2 separate regions of the Homo sapiens genome follow, and region 1 is linked to region 2. The links are contacts of gene promoters, found by promoter capture Hi-C in blood cells and fetal thymus (Javierre and others, 2016). All regions are on one chromosome and are shown on one strand. The core of a region is centred on a gene start or on the middle of the fragment in contact, and the rest is flanking DNA. Distances in the headings are between cores, read along the strand shown.

Region 1 (2,738 bases), core at 196-2,695, 130 kb after region 2:
AAGGATAAGATGGTCTTTCTTCTGAAGCCATAGAGCAACTCTGAGAAATCAAGTCCAGATACTGGCTTAGAACAGTATTTGGTAAAGATCCTCAATTTCAATGAGGGAGAAAACCAACCATGACTACAGCCTGGTAAATATAATTCAGCTAGAAAAAAGAATGAGGAAAAAAAGGTAAGTTGTCCAGAGAAAGCTACCTACAGAAGGTTCAAAGAAGACAATGCAGAAATCCTTACAAGAGAAGCTGTTCAGGTTTTGGCTAGATGTCATATCTACATTCATTAGAAATTTAAACTTTTATTAACTCGTTTGTCTATGTGTGTTTTTTTTTTTGAGATGGAGTCTCGCTCTGTTGCCCAGGCTGGAGTGCAATGGTGCAATCTTGGCTCAATGAAACCTCCGCCTCCTGGGTTCAAGCAATTCTTCCTGCCTCGGTCTCCTGAGTAGCTGGGATTACAGGTGCTTGCCACCATGCCCGGCTAATTTTTGCATTTTTTAGTAAAGACAGGGTTTCGCCATGTTGGCCAGGGTGGTCTTGAACTTCTGACCTCAGATGATCCACCTGCCTCGGCCTCCCAAAGTGCTGGGATGACAGGCATGAGCCACCGTGTCTGGCCTATGTCTATGTTTTTGATGGATGAAGTTTTCTTTCAATTTCCTAAAAGCTTATGCTTAAAACTTCTAACCTACTCTCTGCTGAGGTTCCCAGGGAGAAACTCTTTAACCCAGCTCTAAAGCTGGGCATGAAAGGATCTATTAATATGAATCCTCTGAAATTATATGTAAAACTTTTGTGTTTGTACTTTTTTTCTGAGAAGGGGATCCCAAGCATTCATCACCTCAAACCAACTCACTTACTGGGTAGCAAGCAATCTGAGGGTAGCTGTGGAGACTAATCTCTTTTAGCCTAAGCCTTTTCTTTACACTGCATTTCAACACTCTAAAGAGAGGAAATCTCAAGAGTAAAAGAGCCTCACTCAGTGGCATTTATAGATGTTCCTTGACTTACATGGGGTTACATCCCGATAAACCCATCATAAACTGAAAATACCGTTAAGTTGAAAATGCAGCCCAGCGTCTGATAAAAGAATCACTAGTACTTAAAGTCTAAAACCTTGTGATTGTGTATTGTTTTCACAACACCATAAAATTGAAAAAATCCTAAATTAAATCATCATTAAGTTGGGACCATCTGTATTTACTAAATAATAATTTTTTTAATTAGCCACAAGACAATCTCACCTATAAATCGCCAGGTAATTCCAAAGGATGAACCCCTAGCTAAGATAGTGTCTTAGTGAGACTCTGGTGTATCTCAACAGGAAATATCTAACAAATGAAGTTGAAACGAAGCAAATTAGCCCAATGTTAAATGTAAAACTTTACCTTTCCCATGTAACAGTTTTCACAGGTTTTTCTTGAAGAAAATTAGTAACATGCTTATGAGAAAAATAATAATTTCATTCTTTAATTCACTTAAACTGTAATGCCACTTACTTTGATTATAACAATCACTGTCTTTCCCAACTGCAGTTCTAGCTTGTTTAATTATCTGGAATTGTGAGTCCTTATCTGTCAAAAAAAAAAAAATCCATAAATACAATATGAATCATCAGTGACCACAATTAAATTATTAACTGGTTTCTGATCCAAGCCCTTTGGGCACGTGGACAAACCTTCCAGAATCTTAAGAAACATCCACATCCCTGTCTATGAAATCTGAACACAGAATCCTTTCAGATTTATCTACAGCCCAGTAAGTAATCAGACTTCAAGCAGTTCATGCCTATAATTAGGCACGCAGCAGTAGCAGCGACAAATTTTACTGACCAATAATAGCTAACATTCTTGAAGCCTGTGCTGTAATGGTCACAACTCTGTGACCCTCTAGCTGACTCCAGCTAAGTGCCTGACACTATTCTAAGAATATTATATATATATATCACTTAATCTTCGCAAAGTGCTATTATAACCATCTCCATTTTATAAAGAAATTTAGGCAACAAACAGGTTAATTACCTCGCTGAAAGTCACATCTTTCATGATAAAAACAGGAGTTGAATCAGGACATTCTTTTTCCAGAGCCCAAGACTTTAACCTCTATATATGCTGTCAATCCCTGGAACACATGTCCATCTTCAGTCTCATCCTTCAATCTGTGTCACATGCTCAAATTTTTGTTGTAACTGAGAAAGAAGGTGTCTGCTCTACTATACAAAGCTTTGTAAGGTTTTCACTGCCTATTAATACAAGCCTGGTCTCTAAACTTCAGATTATGTGAATTAGTTGCCTTGTACATTAATTAATTCTACATTCTCTTAAGGTACTAAATGTCCTTGTCATAAGCATGCTTATACAATCCATTCTTTTCATAATGCAAAAATGAAAAATCAATATCTACACTAAGATATTTTTAAATTATAATAACTTAATACTTACTCAAAGTAATCGAAGGTATCTTCACATTTTCATAGAAAAACTCAGGATTATACATTTCATCCTGAAAAAAAAGAATCTTACTGTTCTTAAGTATCAGATAATTGACTATTTTAAGACTTGACCTAAACAATAGATTAGTATCACTTAATTATTTCTCACAATAATTTGTGCAATTAGGCAAGTACCAACCAACCCTTCAAGTAAGGGCTATTATTTTGTCAGTGAACCTCACATTGTAACTTCCAAAAATTGTGAATTAATGTGTAAAATGCATGACATATATGTATATATAATATAGT
Region 2 (2,700 bases), core at 5-2,504:
GCGCGGACTTCAGTCGCCCGGGAGGGGGCTCTCCGCGAGGCAGCTGCTGCTGCTGCTGCTGCTCCTCCTGCTGCCGGAGCGCCGGGGGCTGCGGCTGTTGGAGGCCGTGCAGGGGCCGGGGCCGGTGCGGGAGCCCCAGCACCGACAAGATCTCCTTCTGCATCTCCCGCTTCTCCTGCGTCTTGAGCCGCCGGTACAGGAAGCCCGAGGAGGACTGCGGCGACGGCGGCGGCTGCTCCGTGCGGCCGGGGCTCCCGCCGTCCCCCAGCAGCTGCCCCCCGGCGGCGGCGGCCGCGGCAGCGGGCAAGGGCGGCCGCAGCGGCGGGGGCCCGCAGCAGCTGCACAGCAGCCCCCACCACCAGCACAGCCACTGCGCCCTCCGCCCCAGCCCCGGCATCCCCGCCCGGCCGGGCTGCCCCCGCGGATCCCGCGAGGCGTGGAGCGGCGGAGCGAGGCCGGAGCGCGGCCGCTGTGGCCCTTGGCGTGAGCAGTCCCCGCCACCTCTCGGCGGGCTCGCTTCCCCTTCCTGGCCCTCAGTCCTTATCTCTCATGGTCGTCCGGGGCGCCCCCAGTTGCCCAGGCTAGAGAGGTGGCGAAGGGGCGATCACCAGGAGAACCGCTTGGAGGGGAGGAAGGGGAGCCTCACAGCCTCGCGCAGGTCTCTAGAGGCGCGCGGTCCAGGCCAGGTGCGTCTGAGTCCGGGCTGCACTGCAGCCTGCGCCCTGGCTCCTGCGAGTCGCGGCGCGGTCACTCTGGGCCTCGCTGGCCGCACACGTGCGCTGCCCCGCGCTCTCCCTGGCGACTGAGTGGGACCCGGGGCAGCGGGGAGCGGGGCCGCTCACGAGCTGCGGGAGATGCCCGGCATCACCGTGGCGCACGCCCCTCCCCAGATCGCAGGGCCACCATGAAGTTTACCCCGTTGCAGGGCCCAGGCTGCGGCGACAAGGCGTCCCGAAATGCCAGTCTATTCCGCGAGGTTTAACTTCCTTCTCGCTCACGAACTCCGCGCCCCTGAGCTCTCGGGCACCGTCGCTCCCACTCAAAATCTCCGCGCGCCGCACGCCTCCTCAAGCGGAGGCGGCGAGGATCTTGCTTTCCGTTCGGCGGTCGCCCGGCTGCCCAGCAAACCCGCTCGCAGAAAGGATGGGAAGGAAGGGGGCTAGTGCACCGAGCAGCGGCCGCGGCGGCGGCGCCGGAATTCGGTCTCCCGCCTCTCCACGCCGCGCTCCCCGCAGCGGCCAACGTGGGCTTTCTGCTGCGCGCCCGGCTCAGGTACCTCACTCCAGCCCCGGGACTCCCCGCCCCGCGGTAACCGACAGGCTGGCAGCCAATGGGGACGCGAAGCTCGCGGGCTATTTAAATAGCCCCGCCCCTTCTTTCACCCTCCCTCTCCCGAGAGGCGTCGCCTCCGCCGCGCGTAGGTTTCAAGACCCGGGAATTCTTGGAGGCATGCGAAGAGCCGCGAGGTGCCAAAGGCGAAGAGGTCATCGCTAGTAAGAATGATCTGACCAATACCCCGATCTGAAGCTTTCTCTTTTACCATCATTTAAAAGGCCTAAGTTGATGCTTTAACTAAATAAAAATAATAACAGCGATTAAATCACTATACTGCCAGAACTGAGGAAGAAAAGAAAAATGATAGCTTTTCCATCCCTTCCTTAGTTTCTCTTATTGATGTAATGTAGGCGTTTAGCGGACACGTGGCTTTCCACGGCAGCTGCTGGAAGTTGGGACACACCCTCCGGGGAGGCTACTCACAAACTGACCACAGAGAGGGCCACATGTAACCCAAGCCAGCGTCCTGAGGGTTTGGGGTCGGATGTGTTGACTTCTCTGTTCATTTGTGCTTTGGTTTGGCTTCTTAAGCTAGCACCCAAAAGAAAGAGGGTGTAATCAGACGATATATTAGAAAAGGCGTCCCCTGTCTTCTTGGAAATGTCTTGATTCTCCAGCTTATCTATTAATGTTGCATTTTAATATTGAAATACAATGTGACTTATATGGTGCAAGATAAAACTTGAGGAGAGGTGATAAAGATAACTCCAGGAAGAGCAGGGGCTTGGCATGCATTCTGAATGGTCAGGACAATAGACAGGGTCCTGAAACACAGGTTCCTGTGGATTTTAGACAAGATAACACCACCACCAACACCATTTGCCAATGAGGACACAAATTCATTTGCCTTTACCCCGCCCGAGAACATCCAGTCATCTATGGATCGTAGAAGCAAATTCACGTAAAACATGAAGGTTTTTTACTTGGTGAAAATTGTGTGGAGTTGAAAATAAAAACTGCAATTTTCTGACTTGCCAGCCTTAGTCCAAATGGTCCTAGGCATTTGAGAGTGAAGTCAAATAGATTATAGACTGTGGGATTCATGAATTTATGAGATCATAGGCTTTCTGTTGGTCCAAATCTTATAAGCATTCCTATCCTATTTCCAAGAATCTATTTCTCATGGGTAAATAGAGACCACCACTGACTCCAACTACCCACTGAGTCCTTCTTTCTAGTTCTGCCTTGGCCCAGACACAAGTGGTCATTTAGAAGAGTCTTTATTTCTACAAATATCTGATAGCTATGAATTTCAGGGCACAAAACTTATGTGAATGCCAGTCTTTAACCATCTCTACAGGGATTTCTTCCATCCGAAAAGATAATACGATACTTTGTCTGGGATGCCCGGACCCTCAGAATTCA

Evidence for each region. Contacts are between HindIII fragments. The CHiCAGO score rates a contact against its expected background, and 5 or more counts as called.
Region 1: a fragment that was not itself captured here is called in contact with the fragment with the promoter of BMP6 in region 2 in 1 of 17 cell types (neutrophils); the score reaches 6.1 in neutrophils.

What each region holds. Positions count from the first base shown.
Region 1 is chr6:7,593,861-7,596,598 of GRCh38, reverse strand. SNRNP48 (small nuclear ribonucleoprotein U11/U12 subunit 48) reads right to left here. Exons shown (of 9, transcript NM_152551.4): 3 at 2,440-2,500; 4 at 1,498-1,572. Among named protein-coding and RNA genes, the nearest start is that of SNRNP48, 5.0 kb to the right of the region's middle. The HindIII fragment of the contact is 1,555 bases long and covers 668-2,222 here.
Region 2 is chr6:7,724,653-7,727,352 of GRCh38, reverse strand. BMP6 (bone morphogenetic protein 6) reads right to left here and starts at 1,254. Exons shown (of 7, transcript NM_001718.6): 1 at 1-1,254. The coding sequence starts at 397. The HindIII fragment of the contact is 3,909 bases long and covers 1-1,529 here.